Linked DNA regions of Homo sapiens: all the other regions are linked to region 5. The links are contacts of gene promoters, found by promoter capture Hi-C in human tissues and cell types (Jung and others, 2019). All regions are on one chromosome and are shown on one strand. Each heading gives the region's core, a stretch centred on a gene start or on the middle of the fragment in contact. The rest is flanking DNA. Distances are from core to core; before and after follow the strand shown. Region 1 holds the start of PLCD3 (phospholipase C delta 3). Region 2 overlaps GPATCH8 (G-patch domain containing 8). Region 3 overlaps GPATCH8 (G-patch domain containing 8). Region 4 holds the start of UBTF (upstream binding transcription factor). Region 5 holds the start of DBF4B (DBF4B-CDC7 kinase regulatory subunit).

Region 1 (2,700 bases), core at 158-2,657, 420 kb after region 5:
GGCAGGGTAGAGATGGTGTCCTATGTCTCAGTAACCAGAGTGCCAGGCACAGCGCCCAGACATAGTCAGCGCTCAGGTGGAATGAGTCGAGGTAACAAGAAGGCAAAACTGGCAATCAGGACCCCTGAATTCTGCCCCAAGTTCTACACGGGGTCCCTGGCAGCCTTGTCCTTCTGTTCCGGAGTTCCACACCTAGCCTCTCCATCACTGACTATTCTACCAATGGCAGGTCCAACGCAGCACTTCAGTGGCGCGGTCCTTTCCACGTCAGACAACATTCTCGCACACACCCTCTCATTCAAGCCCTCCACTGCCCTGCGGGTCCCACTTTTCCCAGACTCTGAGAGGGTACCAGGGCCCATGTGGTGGGGCACCACCGGGGTGCCAGTCACACTTTGCCCTTTGTTGGCTGTGTGGTCATAGGCAAATTCCTTGCCGTCTCTGAGTCAGTTTCCTCACTTGTGAAATGAGGATTCACCTCCCACCTAGGAAGTCGAGGAAGATTGCAAGACACCACCTGTGTAACCCACCCAGTGCCAGCTGCCTCTGTGATGTTCCAATGAGCCACAGTTACATTCCTTCTCCACGACTGACTTCCCCAAATCTGAGGTGAGAGCCTTGGCTGTCGGACGTAGGCTGTTAGACCAGTCCTGCCAGAGCAGTGTGGCTGTGGCCGCCTCTGTGGGGCCGCGGCTTGGAGGGCTGCTGTGGAGGCCAGCCTCTTCTGCGGAGGCCGACCGCAAACTCGCATCCTTCCTAAGGGCTGCCAAGACCCCGAGACACCCTGGCAGAACCTAGATACTGCTGGGGAGCCGGACGAGGGACACCCCAAGCCTCCCTCTCCCGCTCCATTCTCCTTGGAGACCCCACCAGCGCCCCGTGCCCGAATTCGCGCTTCAGACGCCCCGCGAGCGCCCCCTGGTGGGAAGCAAAGAACACCCTGGGCGCCCGGCTCGCCCCGGGACCCTCGGATGACCCCAGGTGCGACCCCCAGCTGGAGGGAGCTGGCCCTCCGCCCCTAGCCATAGCCTCCCAGCCCCGTGCAGCCTGGGGAATCCACGAACTGCTCCCTGGAGCGCCCCAGACTGGGCCTCTGGGAACGGTCCGCGCCCACCCCACCGCCCCTTGCCCGTCACTGACCCATCTTCTTCAGCGCCCGCAGCCCGGGCCTCTTGGTGCCGCCATCGGAGGGAGTCGGCGGGGACGGGAGAGCGACCGGCGCCGCGACTTGGGCTGCGACCTGGGCGGCCACCGGGGGCTCCTCGGGCGGGCGGCGGCAACGCCTCCAGCGGCCGCACAGCATGGCTTGGCGGGGGGCCGGGGCCGGGCCCGGGGTCTGCACGCGGGGACAGGGCAGCGGGGCGCCGCTCTGGCCCGGCCCCGGCTCTGAGCGAGGCGGCGAGCGAAGAAACTTAGCGGCGCGGGAGGGAGTCGGAGGAGGCAGCAGGAGGTGGGGCGGGGCGGGGCGGGAAGGGAAGGGGGCGGGGCCGGGGCGGTGCGAGGGCGGGGCCAGGCGGTGGCCTGGAAGCCCGGAGCCTCAGCGCTCGCCCCTGCTCGTGAGTCCGTCTCCCCTTAGTCCGGGCGAGCCTCTGATCTTGGCCGCAAGGGTGACTAGAGCCCCCATGCTGCGGGGCTGGGGGTGGGAGCCGGCACCGGGGACGAGGGCCATCCTCTGGCACAGACACCCTCTCCTTCCCGGGGGCCCTGACTCGAGGCTGACGCAGGACCCCCTCCTCCTTCCCTTCCGCGTCCCCGTCGCGCCGCAGGCCTCAGCAGGGAACCAGAGCCGGGACAGGACGCAGGGCCGGGAGCGAAGGCAGAACCCCGGGAGCTGAGCCGCTCGGGGCAGCGCGAACCCGAAGGGATGGGCATGGGGGTGGGGAGGTTGGCAGTGACGTCATAGGATTAACCTCCCTGTGCCAGGCCAGGTGCTGCCCCCTCGGAGAGCCACAGTCTCGGAGCTGACGGACCTGGGGAGCGTGAGGCGGAGCCGAGCCTGGAGTCCCCAGCAACTGGTTCTGGGTTCGAGGCTTGGACAGGCCGGCACCCCAGCCCGGCACCCGCGGTGTAGTTGTCCGCGACGTCAACCCGTGGGTGGGCATCCGTGTGCAGGTTCTGGTGGCCGAGTCGGGTGTGCACTTACTATTTATATGCAAGCACCAGAGTGCGTGCGCGAAGTGGGGGACGTCCAGGTGGCAGCGTTTCTGCGGCCGGTGGCCTGGGTCCGGCAGAGACATGGGCGCACACCGCCACTTTGCGGCGGCCAGCGGCGTGGCATCCTACAGAGAGGCTAGTGCTCAGGGCCTGATTTGCCACCTACTTGCCCTGCTCTACCCCATCCTCAGATCTCCCAGGCCCAGAGATTCTGCACACTGGCTTGGGTCCCTACGCCACTCTGGGGTCCTGAATTTTCTTTTTTTTTTTTTTTTTTTTTTTTTTTTTGAGACGGAGTCTCGCTCCGTCGCCCAGGCTGGAGTGCAGTGGCGGGATCTCGGCTCACTGCAAGCTCCGCCTCCCGGGTTCACGCCATTCTCCTGCCTCAGCCTCCCAAGTAGCTGGGACTACAGGCGCCCGCCACTACGCCCGGCTAATTTTTTGTATTTTTAGTAGAGACGGGGTTTCACCGTTTTAGCCGGGATGGTCTCGATCTCCTGACCTCGTGATCCGCCCGCCTCGGCCTCCCAAAGTGCTGGGATTACA
Region 2 (2,700 bases), core at 105-2,604, 280 kb before region 5:
TAGGATAGTATACGTAGATGAAGGCATTACTACCTGATGGTCCAAATTCTCTTTCTTAACTAAAAACATACGGGAAGGCAGAGATACGACAAGGGTAGTTAAGGAAAGATGAAGGCTGAGTACCAATGTTTGAGAATGACAGCTGAGAGGACTAAGAGGGACATGACACATGAGAGGATTAATTGGCAGCTCTGAGGGCCCAGTGAGGTTGGCAGAAAGGGTATAGAAATAAAGAATGCAAGTAATGCATTTTGTACTAACGGGACAGGCTTTTGGTGAGTATGTATGACAAAAGGACTAGGAGGAAAGGGAGTTGGAATCAAAGTGCTGTGAGAGGTAAACATGAGTGTGTGGTGCTAGAGGGGAAAAGTACAAATTAAGGAGGAGCTAAGTTACTAAAGCTTCCAAAGTCATGTGAAGTTGAAGAAAAAATATAGGAGAATAAAGGAGTGACAGCAGGAAGGAAAAAAGACCATGGTCAGATAATAGGACATTTAAGATTTTAGAAACAGTGTAGTTCAGAGTTGACAGGGTTTCGGAGTAAATATTTTGATCAATAAGATGGGGAAAGTAATTCTTGCTCTTGCCCAGGCTGGAGTGCAGTGGTGTGATCATAGGTCACTGCTGTCTTCAACTCCTGGGCCCAAGTGATCCTCCCAATTCAGCTTCTCTAAGTAGCTGGGATTTATAGGCATGCACCACCAACACCTAGCTATTTTTTTTCTTTTTTCTTTTTGTAGAGACAGATTCTTGCTACATTGCCCAGACTGCTCTCAAACTCCTGGGCTCAAGCAATCCTCCCAAAGCACAGCCGTGATCCACCGCACCCAGCCGAGAAATAATTCTATTACCAGGGAGAGAGCATCTCAAGATACTATGTATAATCTTATGAGGCTGTGAATTACTGAGGTATTTCATTTATTTTTCACTCGACAGTGTAACTTTTACTTGAAAAATAAAAATGTATTCTTTATAATGTTTATATTTCAGACAGTACATAAAATGAATCTGGCTTTTCTCACTATTTCAAAATATTTATTCATTCAACTAATATTTATTGAGTACTTATGCACCACACACTGTGCTGGATGCAGGATATATACTGGCAGACAAATAGACATACTCTCTCTCCTCAATGCCCTTTCTGACTAGTACAGAAAGCAGAATATAAATTAGTGAATAAAAATTTATAATTACAAATTGTAAGAGAGGTTGTTGCAAGAGAATAAGGCAGAGTGGTTAATTATTTAAATGAGTTGATTAGGGAAGATCTATAATGAGGTAATATTTAAGCTAAAACCCAAAGGAGAAAATTTAACCAAGTGAAAGATGATGAAACATGGTGTCATGACCACTCTTGTGCCTAGAGAAAGAATGTAGCCAGAAAAAGAGGGCCCAGGTCTGAAGCTGAGGAACTCCAATATCTGAAGTTCAGGCAGAATAAACAGCAGCCAACAAAGGAATCTACATAGAAGCAGCAAGACAGATAAGAAGCAACTAATCTAGGAAAGTATAAATTCTTCAAAACCAAGAGTAATGAAAATGTTTTAAAGAAGAAAGAGTATGCCAGGCGCAGTGGCTCACGCCTGTAATCCCCACACTTTGGGAGGCCGAGGTGGGCAGATCACGTGAGGTAAGGAGTTCGAGACCAGCCTGGCCAACATGGTGAAACCCCATCTCTACCAAAAATTCAAAAAAATTAGCTGGCCGTGGTGGCTCATACCTGTAGTCCCAGCTACTCGGAGGCTAAGGCACGAGAATCACTTGAACCCGGGAGCAGTGAGCTTAGATCACACCACTGTACTCCAGCCTGGGCAACAGAGTGAGACTCAGTCTTTAAAAAAAATAATAATATTAATAATAATAATAAAATAAATAAATAAATAAATGATTTATTGGATTTAGCAAATAGAAGTGTTTGGTGGCCTTGAATAAAGTGGTTTGGTGAAAACTGCTAAAGTCAGTATAAATAGGCTGAAGAGTGAATAAAGAGAGAGGAAAGGAGAAGAAAAAGGGGAAAGAAAAAGGGGCAGGAAAAGAAGATGAGTTGGTTATATTATAGTTCTGGATAAAATAAAACACACAAAAATTTAATATATAGCTAAGCTAAGTTCAAAAACAAGAAAGGGGGTCAAGCGCGGTGACTTACGCCTGAAATCCCAGCAAACTGGGAAGCCGTGGCAGGCAGATCACCTGAGGCAAGGAGTTCAAGACCAGCCTGGCCAACATGGTGAAACCCCATCTCTACTAAAAACACAAAAATTAGGCTTGGCGTGGTGGCTCACGCCTGTAATCCCAGCACTTTGGGAGGCCGAGGCGGGTGGATCACAAGGTCAGGAGTTCGAGACCAGCCTGACCAACATGGTGAAACCCCGTCTCTACTGAGTGTTGGGGTTACAAGTGTGAGCCACTGTGTCTGGCCTCTGCAAGTGTTGGGGTTACAAGTGTGAGCCATTGTGTCTGGCCTCAAAGGACTTTTAACAATTTTTACTGCTACCACTACTTGAATACCTACTATGTAACAGGCATTGTGTTTTCAAACACTAATTCATGTAATCTTTCTAACACACTTTAGAAGTAGGTATTATTATCTCTATAGTTTATACAGAGCCAATAAATAGGAATGTAATAGAAATCTGAGATCTACTACTAATTACCACCAAATGTCAAACAAATGCTGTTAGCAACAGTGATGATTTT
Region 3 (2,700 bases), core at 4-2,503, 260 kb before region 5:
CAGGTGAAATTTCAGATGAGCTCACAAAGTAGTAACTTGCGGTTCAAATACAGCCTGGTATGTTTTGTTTAATTTCATTATTTTAGACTTCAAGCCAACATTTATCAATTAGAACATTTCACAGAAAAGGAATCTGAATTCCTGGCTGCTTTTAACAATTTTAGAAGATCCAGCAACACTGAGATTATAATCTTAGGTGGCAACAATTACCTTCTCTAAACACAGCAAAACTCACACCACTTGCTATTGTCTCACACTCACTCAATTTCAACAACGTATGCTATCATCGGGCCCCAACTCCTACTTCAGGTCTACATTCTTTGCTCCCTCCTTTTGAACCAAATGGGATTTACAAGAAAACCAAGTGGGATTTCTATCTACTGGTTTGGGAAGATTTAGTGAGAAAGGAAATACTGGATTTAAAACTAATAAACTACATTTGAAATACTACATAAAAATATATTACACTTTGTTCTCTTTTCCGAGTGTTTTAAGTGCCATTGTTTTGAATTTTGGTGGTAAATTTTAAATGAACTTTTGAAAGATTTTAATAAAATATGTTTATTATAAAACACTTTTTACTTTATGTTCTTATCATTTTCAGATTTCATTCCACTTTAAAATACCAACGCTTCTCATGGAAGAATAAAGAGATTCCACTAACTCACAGACACCTGTACTCCATGTATCTATCAGCAAGTATAGATGCACAGATAGAAAATAGTTGGTTGCTTCTTTATTCTCACAATCTGAGACTTTTCACTTGTTAATTATTATAAAAAATTTGAAATTATAACTTAAATTGCTCAATTCTCTATTAAGCTTCCACTGTACCTTTAACTTCACAATTAAAACAATCATTATACTGTATTAAATTTGTTACATTATTTGTTTCCCTATTAGAAATAAACCTCTGGAGGGCAGAGGTTCTATCTTATTCACTCTTAAAGACTTAGTACAGATCTGGCACATTCTTTTTCTCTTTTTCTTTGGAGACAGAGTCTTACTCTGTCACCCAGGCGGCTCACTGTAACCTCCGCCTCCTGAGTTCAAGCTATTCTCATGCCTCAGCCTTCCAAGTAGCTGGGATTACAGGCGTGCACCAACATGCCTGGCTAATTTTTGTATATTTTGGTAGAGAGGGTTTCGCCATGTTGGCCAGGCTGGTCTTGAACTCCTAGCCTCAAGTGATCCACCTGCCTCGTCCTCCCATAGAGCTGTGATTACAGTCGTGAGCCACCACACCCAACCCAGATCTGGCACCTTTTAAGCATGCAATAAACATATGCAGAATACAAAACAAGAAAAACAGCAACAGAGAATACATAAATGCACAGTAATTACTATCCTTTAGGAATTTACAGTCTACTGAATTAGGTAAAAGAGACACATCAACAAAAATTATACAAGATTGAATATTTAAAATGCCACAGGAGAGAAACAGAAAGTAGAAGTCAGGGAGGAAATTATAGTATGAGACATAAGTTACAGTATTTTCTTTTTCCCTGGACACCAATTTCCATCCCTAAATATTTGGCAAAAGTTCTTACCACTCAACTTTAGCCTTAAGTTTCTAGTGAATTTATACTCATCATGAAGAATATATATGACCACTTCAAGTGCCCTACGAGAATATATCACATTCAGAATTATCTCCACTTTTTCTGGCCTGAATAACTACTGTATATTTCAATTCGGTGGCACTGGTATTTCTCACCACCATCATATCTCTCCAGGATAGGGAAGTAAGCTAGCACCTACAGTTTAGGTACATTACAGCATATTGGTTAAAAGCATAGGTTTTGGCACCAAGATTCTACCACTTATCTGCTGTAAGATCTTGGGCAGGCTGGGCGTGGTGGCTTAAGCCTGTAATCCCAGCACTTTGGGAGGCCGATTCGGGCGGATTGCCCGAGGTCAGGAGTTTGAGACCAGTCTGGCCAACATAGTGAAACCCCGTCTCTAATAAAAATACAGGAAAATTAGTCAGGTGTGGTGGCATGCACCTATAATCTCAGCTAGTTGGGAGGCTGAGGCAGGGGAATTGCTTGAACCAGGGAGGTGGAGGTTGCAGTGAGCCGAGACTGCACCACTGCACTCCAGCCTGGGTGACAGAGCAACACTCCGTCTCAAAAAAAAAAAAAAAAAGAAAAAAAAAAAAAGGAAAAAAGATCTTGGGCAAAGATCTTTTGGTAAAATGCTCTTTGGGTAAAATGGGAGTATCTACCTCAAAGAGGATTTAAGTTAGAAAATCCATGTCCAAGCACTCAGTAAACACTTAATAAATGATGGCTATTATAAAAGATTAACACTAAATCTAGTGAATAGGGGCTTGCTAGTCAAACATGTGCATAAACTGACTATATATTGTCTTCATAGTTGACCTGTTTTATCAGCCTTCATAGTTATTCCTTCCTTTCCATTTCCACTATTACTCTTTCAAGTCCTTATCTATACTCATACCCAGACAACTTTCTAAATGGTTTTCCATCTCCATCCTCAGACATTCTTTGAGCAGACTATTATTTTATTTCCATCACCAATGCCTGGCTGGGATAATGAAAAGAGATTTCGATGGCAAATCAAAGAATTTGGGTTTGGGTTTCAGCCCTATCATTAAAACATTTTGGAACCCTAAAAATAAATTTCTCAACTGTATAGTGAGTTTTAACTTATCTTCAATATCTTTTTTTTTTTTTC
Region 4 (2,700 bases), core at 136-2,635, 490 kb before region 5:
CCTCACCCTTTGGAAGACATACCAGTTCCCACTCAGGAAGGCTGAGAGGTGAACGACTAACGACTTTCTAACCGCCCAGAGTAGAAGGGGGCAGGTCCACACTCTGAGAGACTCAGCCATGACCTTATTAGACTTAAGGGGTCTATGGGAATGGGAGTGCGCCCCTCCTCTTCCTCGTGACCCCCTCCCCCAGCCCCTGCAGCCCGGCTCCGCGGCGCGCGCCCTCCCCTGGCCACGCGAGGGCCTGCTCCTAGCTCCCGCGTGCAGCGAGCGCCCGCCCTCCGCCCCGCTTCCCAACCCCAGCCAAAAAAAAAAAAAAAGAAAAAATCTCCTCCTCCTCGGAGCGCCCGCCCCGGGGAGGCCCCAGGCTGGAGGGCGGGGGAAGAGGAAGGGCGGGTAAAGGGCGCGCGCGGCCACGGAAGCGGGCACGCGCCCCAGTCTCCTCCTCCCGCCTCCCCCCGGCCGGTTCCCCCCGCCTCCGCAACCCGGCGGGGACCCGGACGCAGCGCAGCCGCCGCCAGCCCCGGAGCGGAGCGGCCGCACCGCCCCCGGGGACCGGATCCGGATTCCCGCCGCTCCCCCCTCCCGGGCTCCCTTCGCCGTCCCCGCCCGCACAGGCGGGCAAGCAGCCGGAGAGAAGCGGCCTAGCCTGCCCCCCGCCCCCGAGCCACCCACCCCGGCCAGAGGCGCCGCCACCGCCCAGCCACCCCGACGCGCACGGAGGAGCCCGGCACAGAGGCGCGACCGCGGCGGGAACCGCCGCCTCCTCCCCCGAGCCTGCGGCCCAGCCCCGCCGGCGCCCCCGCCCCGGCCTCCGGGGAGCCGAGCCAAGGAGAGGGCGGGAGGACGGCGGCCGGGAGGCGGGGGCGCAGCGCTCACCGGCCCCGCCGCCCCCTCCGGCGGCCGGGGAGAACTGCGCCTGCCGGCTCCGAGAAGCGCGGGCTCCTCCGCCAGCGGCCGGGGCTCGGCTCAGGCCTCGCTTCCTGCCTTCCCCTCCCCCGGCTCTCGGCGTCCTCCCAAGTGCCCTGGTCTGCTCGCGCCCGGTCGCCTGCTCGGTGGTCGCTTCGGGTCCCCGCTGGGCGCCCACCGCACCCCGCGGTTCGCTCCCGCCGTCCGGCCCCGACCCCAGCGCGCGTCCTCAGCCGCCTCGGTTACCCGGCGCAGCGCGGCCTCCGGGCTTCCCGCTCCAGCGGCTCCCTCCCTGGCTCTGAGTGGCGGCGCCCTCCCCCGCTCGGCCGGGCACAGCCGCAGCTCCCTCCCGCGGCGGCAGCGGCTCCTCCTCCGGGCGAGGCGGCGGCGCTGGGGCGGCGGCTGCTGCTGCTGTGGCGGCGGCGGCGGCGGCGGCGGCTGTGGCTGCTGCCTGCTGCTCCTCGCGGCGAAAAGCACAAAGCACAGCGCCCTCCGCCTGCAGGCAGCCCGCCCGCCGCCGGCCCCGGCCTCAGCTCGCACACCCCCCGCCGCCGCCGCAGCCTCAGCCGCCGGAGCGGGGAGGAGGAGGGAGAAGGGAGGAGGAGGAGCGGGAGGGGGGGCGGGAGAAGCGGGGCAGCGAGCGCGTCCTTCCCCGTAGAGCGCACACCGACCCCCGGGGAGCGAGCGCCAGCCCGCCCGCCTCGCCGGCTCCGCTCCCTCCCACAGCCTGCCCGGGCGGGCTCCGCGGGGGGCAGCTGGGAGGAGGGGCGGGAGCTGGGGGGACCCGGGCGGCCGAGGCGGAGGGAAGGAAGGAGGGGAGGGGGGTGGTGGTGGTGGTGCTGGCGGCGGCGGCGGCTGCTGCTGCTGCTGCTGCCGCCGCCGGGGAAGGGGGGGGGGGCCGGGGCAGGGAGACACGCAGCCGCCCGGATGGCGGCGGGGCTCGGAGCCTAGGCGGGCGGGCGGGCGCCGAGAGCGACCTCGCCAGACCCGCGGGGGAACTAGCAGGCTTCGCCGGCGAGGGAGGGCCGAGGTGCGGCCGCGGAGAGGGTGCCCGGAGGTGCCCCCGGCGTCCGGGGAGGCTCGGGGGGCGCCCACAGCCCTGCTCCGGAGCTCTCCCCCAAGTTCTCCCAGCTCAGACTAGGGCTTCCAGGCCAGCTCTCTCCCGCCTCCCGGAGCGAGCGGTCCGCGCCCACCCTCATCCCCCGGAGCGTGGCCGCTGGTTTGGGGCGCACGCACGCCGATCGCGGCGTCCAGCTTCGGTGCCTACCTCGCGGTCCTCTCCTTGCCGAACGGCACATACGAAACTTAAAAAAAAACCCGAAAACTAAAACCTCTGCATTAAAAAAAAAAAATCCCCGTTGCTCTTTACACCCCGGAAACGGCAAGGGAACGACGGGCTCCGGCGGAGGGGCCGCTGTGGGAGCCGGTTCAATCCAGCCCGGCATGGTTCTCCAGGCCTGCCCGGGCGCATGAAGATCGGCGCCGCCGCCACTCGTAGCAACCCCTCTCCCCCGAAATCCGCGGCTCCCGGGCTCACTTACCGAGCGTGTGGATGGGAGCGCAGGCCGGGGGCACCTGGGAGCACGGCGGGCCGAACAGTCGAGCCGCAGCTCCGCTGCAGCCGACGCCGGGGCAGCGAGTCGCCAGACAAAGCCCGAGATGGCGAAGCGGAGCGACGGCTAATGGCGAGCCCCACGCGCCGCGCTCCGCCCGCCCCGCTCCGCCCGCCCGCCCGCCCGCCTCGGCGCAGCGCAGCGCCGCTCCGAGCGCTTGCCCGTCAGAGCCGCCTCG
Region 5 (2,700 bases), core at 49-2,548:
AAACTATCACTCTGGTTGCTGAATGGAGAATGGATTATACTGGGGAGAGATAGGAAGCTACTCGGGAGTAGAAGTGAAGAATTGACCGCAGTACTTTAGGCAAGAAATGATAGCAGCTTGAACTAGGGTGGTGGTGGTCTGATTCCAGATGTACTTTGGAGGCAGAGTTAGTAGGATTTTTTTCTTGGAGTGGGGATGGGCACAAGGGAAAGTACTGAAAGACAACTTCTAGGTTTTTGGTTTGAGCAACTGGGTGAATGATTGTGACATTTGAGTAAACAGTAACATTTTACTGAGAGGGGAAGACCTGGGGGGAGAACAGGTGGTTTTTTGACAGGGGCAGCGAAACAAATGTTCTGTTTTGAATGTGTTCAGCCTGAGGTGCCTATTAGACATCCAAATTGAAATAGCCAGTAGGCACTTGAATATGTGAGTCTGGAGATCAGACAGGTCAGAGCTACAGAAAATCTGAAGGTGTGGCAGAGCTGAATTGTAAAGCTGTGGAGCTGGATGAGATCTCCTAGGGAGATAAGGGAGAGGGATAAGGGCTAAAGCGTTGGCATACTCCAAAATATATAGGTGAACAGTGGCTTTGGATCCAGCAAAGGGGACTGAGGAGGAACCATTGAGATAGGGAAAAAAACGGTAGAGTGCTGAGTCATGGAAGCAAAAAGAAGAAAGTATTTCAAAGAAGGAATAGTCCATCTATAAGTTGGATATGATAAGGATAGTATTTCAGACTGTGGAAATCACAGTTGACCTGGATAAGTACAGTTTTTGTGGGGAGGTCCCCAGCTCTCCACTGAATGATCTCTTATTAGATCAAATTTGATCTCTAATTAGCAGTCTAATTAGATGGGTTGAAGAAAAGATGGGAAGTGAGGGATAAAGATACGTCTTTTGAGAAGTTTTGTTGGGCAGGTAATAATTGAAGAACGGGAGGGGGACAAAAATGTGAAGATGAAATGATGTGTAAGTGAAATCTTTATGTAAACTGCAAATGCTCTGCAAGTGTTAGGCTTATTTTGTTATTTAGTATTCAAACTTCTAGGAATTTCAATGCAGCTCAGTGTGAAGAATCACTAAAAAGCGACCACTAGTCCTCAACTTGAGGGCCATTAAGGGGCAAAGCCGTCTAGCCAGTGAAGAGCCAAGAAATGAAGAGACGGTTTGAGAAGACGTAGGCGGTGGGGGAACGGAAAGAGGAATCGCGAAACTAATATTGTCCTTCCAAGGACACCGTAGGGCGGATCTCGCAGCTACGGCGTTCTTTTAGGGGTGGAGCCGGCAGGAAATTTAAACTGAAGCCGCGGCCGAAAACGCCAAGAGATTGATGCTGTAGCTGCCCTGAGATAACCAGGACTGTGGAATCGGGAAGAGCTCATGGAGCTCGCGAATGTAATACGGAGGCCTCTGAGGAAGGAGTACGGAGGCCGAGAAGGAGCCGGCATTTGATGAGCGAACCGGGAAAGGGTACGGATGCCGGGAAGGGGAGAAAGAAAGGCGGAAGGGGTCGTTAATAGCTGAGGCGAGGTGCGGAGTCGTGGAGGGGGCTTAGGAAGTGACCAGCGGGTAGGTGCCGAAGCTGAGGAGGGTATAGGGGCCGGGAAGGAGCCACAGGAGTTGAGGGGACCGAGGAATGAAGGTGGCAGAGGAACGTAGGGGACAACAGCCTGGAGGGATGTATGGAGATTGAGATGGACAGGAGGTGGCCAAGAGGTCACGGCCGTTGACTGAACGGAGTCTGAAAGGAGGCGGAGGGCATGAGGGGCAAGAGCCTGGCGGGAGTCGCGGGATGTAGGTCGGAATGGAGTTGAGTCTTGCTGTTCCCAGGAGTCGCGTTTCTGTGCGCGTTTTGGGAGACAGTAGTGGGCGGGAGGCATGGAAGTTCCAAGGGTTGGTGAAGATGGTTGAGTTGCTGTTATGTCCTTTCTCAGGAGACGATTGCCTCGAGCTGGAGAGTTCCATGGCTGAGAGTAGGCTCCGGGCCCCGGACCTAGGTGGGTAACAGGACAGAACTAGGGACGTGAGGTGAAAATTGCCCCAGGGTCTCTTGGAGAAGACCGAAAAATGTTCCCCCTGTTGGAGTTTTCGATCACTCAGTGTTTTTATGTACTTATTTATTCATTTTATTTATTGGGATGGGGTCTTGCTGTGTTGGCCAAGCTGGTCTCAAACTCCTGGCCTCAAGCAGTTCTCCTGCCTAGGCCTCCCAAAATGCTGGGATTACAGGTGTGAGCCACTTCACCAGGCCCACTTAGTGGTTTTATGTGTGTGTGTGTATGGACGCAGCATCATAGACCGTTTTGGGATTCATGATAAAGGTCAAGTAAGAGTCATATTATGAACAAGATTAACAGACAGATGTGGAGTCAGGATAGAGTGACTTATTAAATATATAAATTAATACATTCATAGTTGTTTACAATAAAATCCTTAAGTTAAACACTGCTACCTAATTAGGTAAGTATTTTAGCACATGGCACTTCCCTCCGTACTGCCCCTTTAGTTAATATCATCTAGTTGGCCGGGCGCGGCTGCTCACGCCTGTAATCCCAGCACTTTGGGAGGCCAAGGCGGGCGGATCACGAGGTCAGGAGATTGAGACCATCCTGGCTAACACAGTGAAACCCCATCTCTACTAAAAATACAAAAAATTAGGCGGGCGTGGTGAGGCGTGCCTGTAGTCCCAGCTACTCA

The links. The method cuts DNA at HindIII sites, captures the fragments that hold promoters and counts their contacts. A contact is called where the count stands out against the background at its distance.
Region 1: a contact is called between the fragment with the promoter of PLCD3 here and the fragment with the promoter of DBF4B in region 5, in 1 of the 25 tissues and cell types used here (IMR-90 fibroblasts).
Region 2: a contact is called between a fragment that was not itself captured here and the fragment with the promoter of DBF4B in region 5, in 2 of the 25 tissues and cell types used here (bladder and pancreas).
Region 3: a contact is called between a fragment that was not itself captured here and the fragment with the promoter of DBF4B in region 5, in 1 of the 25 tissues and cell types used here (adrenal gland).
Region 4: the fragment with the promoter of UBTF here is called in contact with the fragment with the promoter of DBF4B in region 5 in 1 of the 25 tissues and cell types used here (dorsolateral prefrontal cortex).

Annotation. Positions count from the first base shown.
Region 1 is chr17:45,131,108-45,133,807 of GRCh38, forward strand. PLCD3 (phospholipase C delta 3) reads right to left here and starts at 1,408. Exons shown (of 15, transcript NM_133373.5): 1 at 1,141-1,408. The coding sequence starts at 1,303. It also overlaps a transcript of ACBD4 not described here. RefSeq lists silencers at 1,212-1,341, 1,442-1,661 and an enhancer at 2,132-2,201. The HindIII fragment of the contact is 27,952 bases long and covers 1-2,700 here.
Region 2 is chr17:44,432,293-44,434,992 of GRCh38, forward strand. All of the region lies in intron 5 of GPATCH8 (G-patch domain containing 8), which reads right to left. Among named protein-coding and RNA genes, the nearest start is that of ITGA2B, 44 kb to the left of the region's middle. The HindIII fragment of the contact is 4,000 bases long and covers 1-2,700 here.
Region 3 is chr17:44,450,142-44,452,841 of GRCh38, forward strand. The region is part of intron 3 of GPATCH8 (G-patch domain containing 8); the gene reads right to left. Among named protein-coding and RNA genes, the nearest start is that of GPATCH8, 52 kb to the right of the region's middle. The HindIII fragment of the contact is 3,187 bases long and covers 1-2,700 here.
Region 4 is chr17:44,218,290-44,220,989 of GRCh38, forward strand. UBTF (upstream binding transcription factor) reads right to left here and starts at 1,386. Exons shown (of 21, transcript NM_014233.4): 1 at 1,156-1,386; 2 at 1-7. All of the region lies in intron 1 of ATXN7L3-AS1 (ATXN7L3 antisense RNA 1), which reads left to right. RefSeq lists silencers at 113-282, 333-1,352, 1,112-1,276, 1,403-2,092, 2,603-2,700. The HindIII fragment of the contact is 22,653 bases long and covers 1-2,700 here.
Region 5 is chr17:44,707,367-44,710,066 of GRCh38, forward strand. It overlaps DBF4B (DBF4B-CDC7 kinase regulatory subunit), which reads left to right and starts at 1,299. Exons shown (of 14, transcript NM_145663.3): 1 at 1,299-1,473; 2 at 1,938-2,000. The coding sequence starts at 1,455. RefSeq lists enhancers at 1,105-1,619, 1,620-2,133. The HindIII fragment of the contact is 13,873 bases long and covers 1-2,700 here.